4 separate regions of the Homo sapiens genome follow, and all the other regions are linked to region 2. Evidence: promoter capture Hi-C in 16 types of primary human blood cells and fetal thymus (Javierre and others, 2016). All regions are on one chromosome and are shown on one strand. The core of a region is centred on a gene start or on the middle of the fragment in contact, and the rest is flanking DNA. Distances in the headings are between cores, read along the strand shown. Region 1 holds the start of EVX2 (even-skipped homeobox 2). Region 2 holds the start of DLX2 (distal-less homeobox 2). Region 3 holds the start of HOXD11 (homeobox D11). Region 4 holds the start of HOXD8 (homeobox D8).

Region 1 (3,454 bases), core at 391-2,890, 4.0 Mb before region 2:
AGCGCCCAGATTGTCAGGGTCTCTCAGCCGCTTCAGAAGCTCACGGGCGGACCTCCGCGTCCCATCCCCGTCCTCCCTCGCCTCCGCCTGTGTCCGCGAATCTCTCTCCGGCTGGGCCGTTGGCGGGTGGGCACAGTGCTTGGAGGGTCAGGGAAGGGTGGGCGCAACCGCGGGAGATGAGGAGCGGCCTGGAGTGAAGATTGATCTTCGTTAAAATGGTTGCCACCGGCGTCATTATGACTATCAAAGTTGTCGCCAAGAGGCTCAGCCTCCAAGCCCAGGCCGCAGAGAGCTGCTGTAAGGCTGTTCGGCGACTCTCTGCGCCCGGACCCAACGCTGGGAATACCTGTGGCCGCAGGTAAGGGGCTGGGGTTGATGAGGGGAGGAAAGAGAGAAGGAAGAAAAGCAAAGGGGAAGGGAGGGCAGCGGGGAGGTAGGGGAAGAAGGCTGTCTCCTCTTTCCTCTTTTGACCTCGAAATCCAGCGCCTTTGCCGCAAATAATTCTATTTGAGGAGGGAGGGGAAAATCTGGCAACGTGAGCGTGGATTCGGAGCGCCCGTATGGCGCTGTAAATCTCCACTGTGTTTAAAGTTAGCTGTCGAATTCTGCTATCAAATCGTCCAGCCTAGTTCGTTTCCCCTCAGGAAAATGCGTAGGCGAGAAGGCTTTCTATCAGCAGGATTATAAAAGTAAAAAACCGGGGACTTCGAGTTCAGATCTCACTCTGCAGACGGTGTTAGAAAATCAGAGAGGACCTAATGATTTCCGTTTGGAGGCGCGGGCCCAATGCACCTCCGCGGCCACGTAGCAAGAAAGCGCTTTCAAAACTCTAGGATATTTCTATTTCTCTCTCTCTCTCTCTCTCTCTTTCTCTCACTCCGTCTCCCTCTCCCTTTCTCCCTCTCTCCCTCTCTCCCTCTCTTCCGCTCTCTCTCTCTCCCGGGGTGGGAGGAGAGCATTTAGGCTGAGGTGAAGAAATAGGGAGGGAAAGAACTCCGGCGTCCTATTTGTTAAATAAAATACATATTTGGTTCCGAAATCCGAAAGATAAGTAATCCAGATAGGAGAGGCGCAAGGTCTTCTCCTTACGCAACTCTTCCTGCATCCTCCCCCTTATCTCCCCCCACTTATGCCCCCAGCTTGTAAATGGTAAAAAAAAAAAAAAAAAAAAAAAAAAAAACCAAACCTTCCCGAGGACCTACTCTGGAAAGTCAAACCATTATCTATTATTTAATACGTATCTGTGTCCAAGGAAAAATGAAGAAGGCGCTGCATGATTAGGACCTAAGGGGCAACCTAGCAAACTGAGAGCGTAATGATGCCCCTAAATGAAGGGGGAAATGTGCCGCGGCGCGCTCTATTAATCAGACTGTCAATTTCACCCCCGAGGCCAAACCCCCGGGCGAGCAGAACTGGCTCGGAGCGGGCAAAGGACCGGAGCCTTCCTCCTCACTTGTCTCTTCTCGCCTCCTACCTGGATCTATTTGTCTGCTCTGAAGCTGCCTTCATTACCCACTGACAGGAGGGTGTATTTATTTGCTTATAAACCTGTTACAATAAATGATTATTCGAACAGCGTCATTCGTACCTTAATGACGAGCGGGCGCTACTTTTTGATGAATGACATCTCGGGATCGGAAGGATGTATGGGTCATTTTGACCAGTCATTCCCTCGCTCTGGCATCCCACAATTTTTCCGCCTCCCTCCGAAAGCGATAATAATATTTAGAGGCGTTCGCTGGGGCTGAATGAGAATTAGCCCTAGGCGCAGCCTATCATTAGGACGGGACAGCAGGGCCACTGTGACATTTTTAAGAAAGCTGAGATGATGGAAAGAATAAGAAAAGAGATGATTCTGATGGAGAGAGGGCTGCACAGCCCTACGGCGGGCAAGAGATTCTCCAATTTGTCCAACTCGGCTGGCAATGCTGTGCTCGAGGCCCTGGAAAATTCGCAGCACCCGGCTCGCCTAAGCCCGCGCCTGCCGTCTGCCCCCCTGCACAGCGCTCTGGGAGAACTCCCCGCCAAGGGCAAATTCGAAATAGACACTTTGTTCAACCTGCAGCACACGGGCAGCGAAAGCACCGTCTCCTCCGAAATCTCCTCCGCCGCCGAGAGCCGCAAGAAGCCGGGCCATTATTCAGAGGCGGCCGCTGAGGCCGACATGAGCAGCGACGTGGAGGTGGGCTGCTCCGCGCTTCGCTCCCCCGGGGGCCTCGGCGCCGCTCAGCTTAAGGAAAACAATGGCAAAGGTAACCGCGCCGGCCGCACCGCGCTCTCCAGTCCCATCCTCTTTGCTCCTCCGCGGCCCCCGCCAGCCTTTCCCGGTGCCTTTTCCCCTCTCAGACCCTCCACAGGCAAGCTACACCGAGCTAGCACGGGCGGGGGCGGGACGCATGTCTGGGACCGTGCCTTCCAGTTCTGCTCCTTGAGCTTTCCCGCCAGGCTCAGGCCTGCGGAGCCTGGAACACCAGGCCCACCCGCCCTCGCTCCTGAGTCCGAGAAAATGTTTCTGCGCTCGTGTCTAAGAGCCCGAGCGAGCCGGTAGACCCCTAGTCAGCAGCCGAGTTGCTTTTGGGAAAGGTACCCTGGGCAACTACTCTGAACTCCCCTGCCCCTGTGCCCTCAGGGCTGGAGGGGGCATTCTTCTGGGTAAGTCGGAGGAAGCCTCGCCGGCGTCTCTGTTTAGGTCAGCGGGAGAAAGAGTTGAAAAGTATATTTCACCCCCTATTGGCTTGGGTTTGAGCTACTGCTGTGTTGGAACTCTTAAAATATTTGAAACCCCGAAGACTCAGATAAAGGTTAGAGGCCGTATAAAAAGCTGCCCTGCGGTCTCCAGACCATGGGAAACCCAGAGCTTCCCAAACTGCGCCCAGAGGTAGGCATTTTCCCTCGGCCACTTTTCCTCCTTGGTTGAAAATTTCTAATTATTAAAAAAGAAATCTCCTAATTCCGTTTCTATTATTTGCTTATGAAGGGCTCCCCAAACTTTATTGATTCCATTAACGGCAGCAATTTGTAAGCATGACAGACCCCATCAATTCCGGCAGCGACTCTCCTTCCTGACGGGGCTTCCCCGATCCGCGCGCAGCGCCAGCGCCGGGCTGTTGGTCCTACAGCCACTCATGCGCTGTTGGTCGTTTGTTTGCCAGGGTACGCAGAGAGCGGCTCGGCTGCCGGCACCACGACGTCGGCGTCGGGCTCAGGCCTCGGAAGCCTGCATGGAGGCAGCGGAGGCAGCGGCGGGAGCGCGGCGCTGGGTGGCTCCGGCTCTGGCGCGGATCAAGTGCGGCGCTACCGTACGGCGTTCACCCGCGAGCAGATCGCGCGCCTGGAGAAGGAGTTCTACCGGGAGAACTATGTGTCGCGGCCCCGCCGGTGCGAGCTGGCCGCGGCACTCAACCTGCCCGAAACCACCATCAAGGTATCAATTCCAGTGCATGCCTGCTCTGGC
Region 2 (3,559 bases), core at 711-3,210:
GATCAAAGCAGCTACCACTGTGGTGACAGAAAGAGTTGGAATTTGAAGTCAAAACACCAAAAGGCGGGCAGATCACGAGGTCAGGAATTCGAGACCAGCCTGACCAACATGGTGAAACCCCATCTCTACTAAAAATACGAAAATTAGCCGGGAGTGGTGGCGCGCGCCTGTAATCCCAGCTACTTACGAGGCTGAGGCAGGAGAATCGCTTGAACCCAGGAGGTGGAGGTTGCAGTGAGCCAAGATGGCGCCACTGCACTCCAGCCTGGGTGACAGAGTGAGACTCCGTCTCAAAAAAACAAAAACAAACAAAAAAACACCAAAAGGCAATCATGTTTCAATATCAAGAGGTTGGTTTTGCAGCTGAGGCCCACAAAGTAGGCAGAGAACCGCATAAAGCAATGCAGGTGGGTGGAGGTGAGCTCCACCTCCAACGTTTCTCATAAGCTGGCGCTTTCCATCTAGGGGCCTTCCTTAACCAAAAAAAAGCTGGGAACTAAATCCAGGTAGACTTAAAGGCGCATTACCTATCTCATTATTTCTCTGTGTGAATGCTGGAGTTTTAATTACACACTTGCTTTTTATGGGGAAGAAGACCAAAGATCATATTTTTGAAGGTATCAACTTGTTTTCTATCAGACAGTTGTTTTAACAAGTTCTTTCAGCGACATGTTATGTCTTTAGGAAAGGGTGCTTCAGATGGTGCGCACTAGCACAATTTTGTGGCTTTTAATTACTATTTTGTTCTTTTGGGGGGTTTCAGAGGCTGGCGCCTGGGCGTGATTAGACCGTCTACCCCGCCCCCCGCAACCTCGCACACTGCCCACCAGGTGGCGCCACAAAGCAAGCGCTGCCGCAGGAACTTCGGACTTGGGAGTCCAGCAAGTCGTGCAGTCCATCACCGTCGGGCCAAGGTTTCCAACTACAAGGTTATAGAGACAGAGGAAGTCACCATTTCCGATTTTTTAAAAAACAGAGGGAAAAGAAAAAAATTGCAATGATAGGGTAGAACAGGGTCCTAAAATGCAAAACTGTAAAACAGGATTAAATTCAACAAACCAGATAAAACTTTTTATATTTGTTGTAAATTTACAGAGAAGTGATAAATCTAGTATCTACTTGATAAATCTATAATCTCACCTATTATCCTATTTCCTTTTTCGCAAGAGCATCGAATTTTCAAGGACAACTGGTGAACCTTTCCACCCGAAGGAGGAAGTCCTCGGGATGGCTTTCAGGGTGTCATTTACTTATCAAACGTATATAATTACTCAGAGTCTCGCGTGTCGGGAAAGTACCAGGGAAAGTGGTTTCAAATATACTATTAGCAATAATACCTTTAAGTTTATGTAGCTTCTCTTTGAAGCAACAAGGAAAACCCGTTTCAATATTATATGATTAATTGTCCTAATATCCCTGCGGATTGGTTAAGAAGCGAGCATTACACGTGGTTTGTGGATAATTAAATCAATTGATTATGTCAAGTGCCGAGTGGCTAACAAGAATAAATGCCAGACACTTCGAGGAAAAGTGAAGATAGAGCTGGCTGGACTCTGGGCACCGATGTACTTTAATGTGTTTGAAAACTGACCTCGGACATGAAAGTACGAATCACTGGAACTGGCACTTGCTCACAGAATGGGAGAGGGGACCCCACTTCTTCCTCTGAGGCAAAACGCCAGTCTGTCTCCACGCCTTCTGTCTTCCTGCTGCGGGCCACCCTGACTCCTCGCTACCTCGACCCCTCGCCTCGCTGCTCACATTCGGCGGCAGTCTGTTTGCACCTGGGGCCGCTGCAGCCGCAGCCGCAGCCACAGCGCCCACCATGTGACGCCCGCCCCTTGGCCGGGCGTTCCCGGAGCTCCGCGGCCGTTTGCTTCTGATTGGCTGTTGCTAGGTGACGTCGCCAGCGCTCACGTGACGAGTGTTAAATGCCCACACTTCAGGAGCCCGCCTGGCAGACAATCGTAAAGCCGCTCGGGGCCGCTCACCTGCTCCCGCCTCCCAGAGCCCCGACCCGGCCCAGCCACCCCTGCCCCCTCCACTGCCCGCCCCCCGCCAGAGCCCGCGCTCGCGCTGGGCAAGGAGCCGAGCGGGCCCAGAGGCCGAAAGAGGATGCGACCAGAGGCAGCTGTCCCGAGCAGCGCACGGTGATCGCCTCCCCCGGAGGAGGAGGCGCCTAGACGGTTGCCTCCTTTCTTGTTTCCCCACCACCACCCCCGTAATTACATTGGCTGCTGGAGGGGACCGGGAGAGACAGAGGAGGCGCCTGGCTTCCCCCGCACGCCCGCCACCTCTGCTCTTTCCCGTCTCGGGCCAGGATGACTGGAGTCTTTGACAGTCTAGTGGCTGATATGCACTCGACCCAGATCGCCGCCTCCAGCACGTACCACCAGCACCAGCAGCCCCCGAGCGGCGGCGGCGCCGGCCCGGGTGGCAACAGCAGCAGCAGCAGCAGCCTCCACAAGCCCCAGGAGTCGCCCACCCTTCCGGTGTCCACCGCCACCGACAGCAGCTACTACACCAACCAGCAGCACCCGGCGGGCGGCGGCGGCGGCGGGGGCTCGCCCTACGCGCACATGGGTTCCTACCAGTACCAAGCCAGCGGCCTCAACAACGTCCCTTACTCCGCCAAGAGCAGCTATGACCTGGGCTACACCGCCGCCTACACCTCCTACGCTCCCTATGGAACCAGTTCGTCCCCAGCCAACAACGAGCCTGGTATGCATAACGCTGAAGTCAAGAGTGCCGAGTCGGTCTAGTTAATGGGATGGATGGGTAAACGTGTTTGGGGCGGGGGGCCTTCGAAAGCTCTGGATTTTCACGCTGCCTGCTCACCGCCCGCTTGTGCCCTTTACCCTCCCCAGCCTCCAATCTGCCGCAGGTCGCCGGTTACGTCCCTCTCTCCTTTGGTAGGACCTGGTGGCCTCAAGAGCCAAGTGGGCGTGCTCTGCCTGCCTCATAAGGGCATCTCCTTGCCACCAGCTTCTTTCTCTTGGGTGTGCACTTGTCTCCCCCTTCCCTGGAGGGTACAGCTCCCGGGGTCGGTGGCGGCTCCGATCGCACGCTGCGAAGTTGCGCCTGCCCGTGGCGCCACAGTTCAGTGCACCCACCTCTTTGCTCAAGCCAAGTCCCCCCCGCCGGGCCCTCTAGGAGGGCGGGAACTCCAGGACCCCTGGGTTGCGCTGTTCTTACGATTCTTTATCGTTGCAGAGAAGGAGGACCTTGAGCCTGAAATTCGGATAGTGAACGGGAAGCCAAAGAAAGTCCGGAAACCCCGCACCATCTACTCCAGTTTCCAGCTGGCGGCTCTTCAGCGGCGTTTCCAAAAGACTCAATACTTGGCCTTGCCGGAGCGAGCCGAGCTGGCGGCCTCTCTGGGCCTCACCCAGACTCAGGTGGGGCTCGCGCCCTGCAGGGGCGAGGAGAGCGCGGGCCTGAGATGGCTGGGAAGCAGGCGGGTTTAGGACAATGCTTTTTAAAGTTCATTTTAAGTACTTTTAAGGATTTCCAGGCCTGCGCCTCGAGCGGCCCTAAGTAAGCTTCTAGGCCCAAAGCT
Region 3 (3,447 bases), core at 109-2,608, 4.0 Mb before region 2:
AGCAGAGGGCAAGGCAGGCTCTAAACTGGAACCTGAGGGAACAGAGACAAGAGCAGGCCCGCCGGGGCATCTGCTTGACTCCAGCGGCGCGCGTCAGCTAGCGGCTTGGATAAAGTCCAGTGCAAGGATCAAACTCCCCCCACTTCCCCACCCCCCGCCTCTCTCCCTTAAAAGCAGGAGGCTCCGGTGTATGCACTCACACTGGCTTGAAATCTCCCTCCCTCCCTCCCTCCATGGTATCTAGCAACCCCCTGCCCAAAACTGGGAAAAGGCTCTCGACAGCTATTAATGTCCTCCTCGAAGTCTACCTTAAGCCCACCTAAATTGGTTTCCTACCATAAACACACTTTACAACGGCCCAGGAAATCTTATAGGATGTATAAACCTCTTCGAATGCTTATAAAGTAGCACATAAAAAGGCGCAAGCAGAGGGAGGCCTCCGCCCCCCCCCCCTCCCCCGCGGCCCCCGGGCCCACCGCTTGCCCAGTACCCGGTGCCTACCTGCGCTGCTGCTCTTCTCGGCCCCCGCCTCTCCCGGGGGGCCCTCGCCGTCGCCACCGCTGCCTTCTGCTGCCCCCTTGGGCTCCGAGCCAGGGGTCGCCTTGGTGCAGGGACTGCCCCCGCCGCCACCAGCCCCGGTCCTGGGGTCGCCCTTGTCGGCTGCGCCCTCGGGCTGTGGCGGCGCGGGTGGCGGCGGGGGCTGCGGCCCGGCGAACGGGGGCCCGGGCGCTGCCTCGTAGAACTGGTCGAAGCCCTGTGGCAAGATGCCATTGCGGCCCACCGCGCTGTAGAAGTTGGAGGCGGCGCCCGCGGGGCCGTGCGGCGGCCCCGGCGCAGCGCACACCGGCTCAGGCGCCTTGAAGAGCACGTCCGGCCGGCGGCCCGCGGGCGGGAGAAGCTCGCGTTGCATGGCCGCCTCCTCGGCCGCCGCGGCCGCCGCAGCCGCCGCCGCCGCCGCCGCGTAGTAGGGAGCGTAGCCCCCCGCGCCGCCGCCGCCCCCGCCGGGGCCGCCCCCGCTGCTGCCGCCCCCCGCGCTGCCGCCGCCGCCGCCGCCGCGGTACGGCCACTTGGCGCGCTCCAGGCCGTAGTCGCGGAAGGCCACTTCGCGCACGGGCTGGACGTGCGGAGCCAGGTTGGAAGAGTAGGGGAAAGTCATCTGGCAGGACGACGGTTGGGAAAGGAACGAAGGCTTGCTAGCGAAGTCAGACGGGGCCACATAGTAGGCGCAGCCCGGCAGGTACATGCTGGCTGCGCTCTGGCCGCACTCGTCAAAGTCGTTCATGACTCCGCGGCGTGCGCGCCAGCGAGCCTCTGGCCGCTCCCCGCGCAGCCAACCTGAGCCATCGATTGCACAAGAGGCTTGGGCCAGGATCAACTAAGCAAAAATCCCCACCGGGCGCTGACGTGCAATTCATCTTGATTGATTCTGGTGGTAATTATGTCACGTGACGCCATGAAGAGAAATGTCCTTATATCTATATCAACGCTCGCCAACACGCCCCGGGACGGCTCCTGGCGCCGAGACGCGCGCGCTGGGGGCGGATCGGCTGCCCTCTGCCGCCAGCTCTCCCCGGGCGCTCCCTGACCAGGCTGCGCCTCAGGCCGGTCACCTGCGCGCCGCTGGCCGCTGTCACCGCTGGGCGCATCTGCCACCGCCCGAACGGGCCGCCCGCCCGCGTCCGCCCTCCCGCGCCGCTTTAAGTACGCGGACCGAGGCCGGCGGGGAGGAGGAAGGAGGGGGAAGAGGGGGAGGAAGGGGGAAGGGAGAGAAGCAGCGAGCAGAGGGGGGGAAGCCCCGGCTCCAGGCTCCCTAGAAGCTAGGAACTAGGTGTGAGGGTGTGAGGTTCCGAACCCCACCCCCCTTACTGCAGCCGCTCCCTCCCCCGCGACTCTGCCACCCTCTGCAGCTCACCCGCCTGGGAGCTTGTTGCTTCTTGTTCACCGGGCGGGAGTAATTTCGCCACTCTCCAGGGCGCAGGGAGCCCTGATTTACATATTTTTCTGCCCAGCGCGTTCAGAGTGGAGTGACTTGGCTCTTTCCGGTTCTGACCCCAAGGGTGCGAGTGCTGGCCTCGGAAAAACCCAGGCCATTCACCACCTAGGCACTCACCCAGGCCGGGGCCTTCGTGCCCACCCGGCTCTCTTCCCTTCTCTCTGGTTTCCCTCTCTGTTCTTGTCTCTCTTTCTCCTTGCCTCGTTTCTCTTCAGTCTTCTCCCTTCTCTCTCCTGTCTTCACTTCTCTCCTTCCTCTTCTTTTCCGCTTTCCTTCTTCCTTCCTCTTGCTTTCCTGTCTCCCTTCTCCTCTCTCTCTCTGTCCTCTCATCCTCTCCCCTCCTTTCCTCTAAGCTGTGTGTCACTGTCTCTGTCTCTCTCCCCGTTGCCTCTCTGCCTTCTCCTTCAGCACTGAAGCCAGGAGGGGGCTCAGCCCGTGGTCCCCAGCCTCCCTAGAATCTGGGGAGTCTGGTGAACAAAAGGATCTGGAGTCCTACTCTTAGGGTGCTTGGCTTCCCGCTGGCTCCCCACAAGAGACAACCCCCACACACTCGCACCTTCGTCCTCCTCACCCCTCTGCTTTCAGGCCTAGCCTGGGTGTCCGCCTTATACCTAGACCCTTCACTGCTTCGGAGCCCCGCCAAGGCCTGCGAATCCACGCCGCGTTTCCCCGAGGCTCTTCTGGTACCCTTGGGTCTGCATGGTCACTTCAGCCCCTCCCCCAAGATAGGTTGTCTCTCTAAGGGCTCTCAGCGGAGCCTGACTCCCTCCTGGAGCCCCTCTGTGTCACCTGGCTCTGAGGCAGACTCTTCGTGGGGCACCCCATCCACTCCCCCAAGGCCTCACTCTCCTCCCAGCCTGCCGCGACCCTCTCCTAGCCCATGGGTCCAGGCAAGGCCTGGGATCCCACCTCCGAGTGAGCAGACGCTTTTCAAAGGTAAACCGTCTCTTCCCAAACCCAAATCCCAGAACCGAGGGCAGGAGGCTGCCCCTTTCCCCAAGATTCCTCCGCCCAGGCAATCCCAGCGCTGGGGCCTGGGCCTCAGTCCTATACCCAGGGCAGGCGGCGCTGGCTGTGATGCTGGTTCCCTCCCTGGCCCGGGCTGCTGCAGTGCCGGTGCTGTGCGCTCTGCCCACCGTGCGGACAGACAGAGAAAAGGCGGGTGGTCTGAGCTAATATCTATTTTCTGGCTGATGTACCCCCCCTTCCTCTTTTTCTCCTCCCTCCCTTTCTCCCTTCCTCTCTCCTTCCTCCGCCCCTTCCCATGTCTTCTTCCCTCCCCCAACACTGCGCAAATAGGTCTGTGGCGACTGGAGGGCATCGAGCCTCCCCCAACTAGAACTGCCCATCTTGTGTGCTCCCTCCCCGCAGCTGGCACCCCCGCCCAGATTCCAGCTGACATTCTTCTCCTCAACCCAGACCCCCAGCACACTTATCTGCCTCCCCATCTCCAT
Region 4 (3,537 bases), core at 834-3,333, 4.0 Mb before region 2:
AGAAACTTTTTTAAACACCCAAATCCCTCTCAAAGCACAGAAAACCTCAAGAGCAGTGACATGAAGGTAGCTTGAAACACAGGTAAGGTCCTTTCCAACAAAGAAAATAGGTGGTGTCCACAGCATATGGTGATTATTAGTTTTAATAGTCTGTGGTAAATTTTAAAGGTAGAAGTTAATTTGTCAGGCCTTCGGCTCTGTCTTCCTCCAGCTCTTGGGCTTCCTTTTTCGTTTCCCCGTCCTTCACCTCCTGCCGGGAAACGGGAAATTTGTCCTTGTTGTTTTCCTTTTTCCATTTCATTCTCCTGTTCTGGAACCAGATTTTTACCTGTCTCTCGGTGAGGGCTAGGGCGTGGGAAACCTCGATTCTTCTTTTCCTGGTCAGATAGGGGTTAAAAAGAAATTCCTTTTCCAACTCTAGAGTTTGGAAGCGACTGTAGGTTTGTCTTCCTCTTCGTCTACCAGGAGCTGCTGATTAAAACAAAAAAAAAGGGGGGGGGAATAAAAGTTTTAAAAATGTTATGGTACCTCTGCATGTTGCTGGAGGTTTGTGGAACGGGGGTCTACGGGGTGAAATATACACAGAGCTCTTTAGCTCCGATATATATATATAGGGTGTGCAGGCAAGAGGAGCAGAGAGGTCTTCACAATTATTCTGTCCCCATCATCTTTACATGGTTCCTACTTTTTTAAAAAAAGTCTGTATTACTTTATGAATAAGAGCCACTGTGGCTACACAAGAAGGAAAAGGAGGGGGAGAGGGAACGGGAGTTTTAAAGCCAGAACGTGAGATGAAAGCAGATTTCTCCCCCTCTCCCTTCTTAAAAAAAAAATGCATCCCAACCTTGTGGTCTCATCCACGGAAACATTTGAGAAGGAGACGAGCTCTGATTTAAGTGGTCTGGGTCCTCGCCAATATTACCACTGGACGATTTACAGTCAGGATATTGTACCAGCTCGGCCTCTTGCTGGGTCGTAAAAATCGGCTGTCTCTGTAAGTTATCGTATCCGTAAAACTTCGCGGGCTCCCCGTGACAGGCAATCCCGCCGCAGGGGGGAGGTGGCGGCGGAGGCGGAGGATGCGGAGGAGGAGGGGGGGCGGCCTGGTAGGCAGCGGCCGGGCTGCCCCCGCCGGGGTGGAAGTACTCCTGGCCCCGGCCTTCCCTACCGCCGCACCCAGTCCCGGAGGGCGGCGGGGACGGGTGCGGGTGCGCGTGCGCCTGCGGGGGCGCGTGCGGGAAGCCGGCGGCGCTGTTGCCATAGAGCTGCAGGGCTGCTGCGGCGGCGGCGTGACGGCCGCCGACCTCGGGCGCGAAGTGACAGTCGTAGTAAGTGGGATTGATGGCCTCGCCCGCCGCCGCCGCCGCCGCAGCCGCCGCCTTGTACTTGGAGTACAGCGGGTTCACGAAGTACGAACTCATTGGGGCGTCAGCGGCGGCGGCCCCGGGCGGGCGGGCGGCGCTAAGCAGCCAGAGAGCGAGCCTCGACTCGGCCGCACTGCCGCGGGGGCCTGTGGGGCGGCTGCTCTCGCCGCCGGGACCGCCGGGCTACGTCGCTGCTGCCGCCCGCCCGCGCTCGCGCGTCGCTTCTGAGGCCAGGCAGCCGCGGGCGCTCAGCTACTGGGCGCTCATGCCCGGCTCTTGCGCCCGCCGCCTCGGCTTCGCGCCGCCTCCCTCGCGGGTCGCGGGGCCTCGCCCAGCCCCCGCGCGCCGCCGCCCTCCCGGCCTTTCCCGGCGCGCCCCGGCTCGGCCGCAATATAATCGCCGACGCCCCAGGCGACCTGCCCCGCTGCCTCCACTGTTTCCTCTCAGGCACCAGTGACTGAGCGCACCCGGACAAGAAAAAAGTGCGCTCGGCCCACGGGGACACTCTGGCCTCGGTTTACAAACCCCGGCTCTGGAGGGAAAAGAAAAAAAACACCCTCTGCCCGCCGCCACCTCTTACCGCGCCCCCCCCGCGCCCCCCTCCCGCCAATCTCGCCCCCGCCGCCGAGGCTGCCGACCCGGTGCGCACCGGCGAGGCATTTTCGCACCACAGCACTGCACGGAAAGTCAGCGTGACGGGGACGAGGAGCCCCGCGGAGGGATCCGCGCGCAGTTCAGTCGCTACGGCCGACGGACGGAGCGCCGCGCCCGGCCCGAGATGCCTCCGCCGGCCTTAAAGGGGGCCCATAAAGACGCACTGCCAAGGGCTCCGTGTGCCCCGGGGCCGCGGGAATGCGGATCGCAGCCGGCAGGGAGGGGCCGCGGCGGAGCCTTAGACTTGGGGGAGCCAAGGAGGCCACTCCCAGGAGGCTGCGGAGCAAATGACTGCCTCCCCGAGCCCCTGGCTGCAAAAGCAGAGGTTGCCCGTGGCTTTTGCAGCTCTGGACACGCGGGTGCAGCCCAGGGAACGTGGACAAGAGGTGTTGACGGACCGGACCGTGCATTTGAGTTGGGGCATATCGAAGTGGTTTAATTAAAAGCCGCGAGTGTGGCCCCAGATCCTGGCGTTATCAAAGCAAATCAAAGCCTTTCTTTTCCAGCCGAGCGGGCCCTGTGGAAATGAGATGTACATTTACCCTTGACGCACCGCAAGCCTGGCCGAGGCTCTCAGGTTAATTGATATTTAATGGAAATCATGCCCATGAATATAGTTTCCATCATTTCACCCTTGATAGACGTCAGCCCTGGGCGCAGGGGGAGGCTGAAGAATGCAGGAGGGGGCATTAGGCTTGCTGAGAGAGTAAATAGAAGAGCGGACAGAAACGTTCTGAGGCGGGAAAAAGGGCTCGCGCTGGGGAGGGTGACATTTCCTCGGGCAGGACGCGGCTCCCGGGTCTCAGCCCCGGCGCGCAGCGAACCAGGGCCGGCTGCGGTTCCCGGAGGAGTGCGGAGGGCAGACGACCGCAAGTTCCCCCCAGGAGCCTCCCAGCCGGCGTTCAGATCGCGCCGGTTCCAGGCAGCTGCAGGCGGCCCATCTTATGCTAACGATCCTACTTCCTCCGCCAAGCCTGTGAAATTACTGCCGAGAGAGCGCGCAGGCCTCAAAGTTACGAATTTTTCCCAAAGCAGAGAAAGAGAAGGCTCAGCCTAGTTTGTGAGCAGAGATGAAGAAAAGTTGCCCGAGTCATGTGGCCCAGTCGAGTGTGAATCGACAAAATATTCCCGATTTTAGCAGCTCTCTCCAAAGCTGTCTGGCTTTACCCTACCAACCGCCTCCCCACACACTTCCTTTCCCTCTCTGCTCCCGTTTCAATGTCCAATAAATGCAATGGTTCTCTGTTGTGTGTGTGTGTTTTCCCCTCTCCTGCTCGGCCTTTCTCGTGGGCTCTTTGGGTGACTGAGCCCCGTTTCCTTCGGGATAGGTACAATGTCGTGAGGGCGCCAGGCCCACAGCCTTGGAAATAGACCTCCAAGGCGCCCCTGCTCAAGCTAAACGCACCACGCCGGCTTTCCACACCAAATGCAAATTTCCGAAAACCCCAGACGGCCTCAGAGATGCTGCAGGCTGGCGAGCGATTTCAGCTACCCCTAGCTCCTTGTGGGTTGGCCCAGC

The links. Contacts are between HindIII fragments. The CHiCAGO score rates a contact against its expected background, and 5 or more counts as called.
Region 1: the fragment with the promoter of EVX2 here is called in contact with the fragment with the promoter of DLX2 in region 2 in 2 of 17 cell types (total B cells and naive B cells); the score reaches 35.4 in total B cells.
Region 3: a contact is called between the fragment with the promoter of HOXD11 here and the fragment with the promoter of DLX2 in region 2, in 7 of 17 cell types (total B cells, naive B cells, total CD4 T cells and 4 more). The highest score is 126.0, in total B cells.
Region 4: the fragment with the promoter of HOXD8 here is called in contact with the fragment with the promoter of DLX2 in region 2 in 4 of 17 cell types (total B cells, naive B cells, naive CD8 T cells and 1 more); the score reaches 26.1 in total B cells.

The regions. Positions count from the first base shown.
Region 1 is chr2:176,082,148-176,085,601 of GRCh38, reverse strand. It overlaps EVX2 (even-skipped homeobox 2), which reads left to right and starts at 1,640. Exons shown (of 3, transcript NM_001080458.2): 1 at 1,640-2,252; 2 at 3,153-3,424. The coding sequence starts at 1,826. RefSeq lists an enhancer at 2,266-2,881. The HindIII fragment of the contact is 15,744 bases long and covers 1-3,454 here.
Region 2 is chr2:172,101,301-172,104,859 of GRCh38, reverse strand. DLX2 (distal-less homeobox 2) reads left to right here and starts at 1,960. Exons shown (of 3, transcript NM_004405.4): 1 at 1,960-2,721; 2 at 3,214-3,398. The coding sequence starts at 2,322. DLX2-DT (DLX2 divergent transcript) reads right to left here and starts at 1,854. Exons shown (of 5, transcript NR_126376.1): 1 at 1,592-1,854; 2 at 828-922. RefSeq lists a silencer at 1,959-2,158. The HindIII fragment of the contact is 7,057 bases long and covers 1-3,544 here.
Region 3 is chr2:176,105,191-176,108,637 of GRCh38, reverse strand. It overlaps HOXD11 (homeobox D11), which reads right to left and starts at 1,358. Exons shown (of 2, transcript NM_021192.3): 1 at 502-1,358. The coding sequence starts at 1,282. The HindIII fragment of the contact is 7,005 bases long and covers 1-3,447 here.
Region 4 is chr2:176,128,251-176,131,787 of GRCh38, reverse strand. It overlaps HOXD8 (homeobox D8), which reads right to left and starts at 2,083. Exons shown (of 2, transcript NM_019558.4): 1 at 845-2,083; 2 at 1-471. The coding sequence starts at 1,421. The coding sequence ends at 176. It overlaps LOC100129455 (a long non-coding RNA gene), which reads left to right and starts at 1,260. Exons shown (of 1, transcript NR_187615.1): 1 at 1,260-3,537. The HindIII fragment of the contact is 7,912 bases long and covers 1-3,537 here.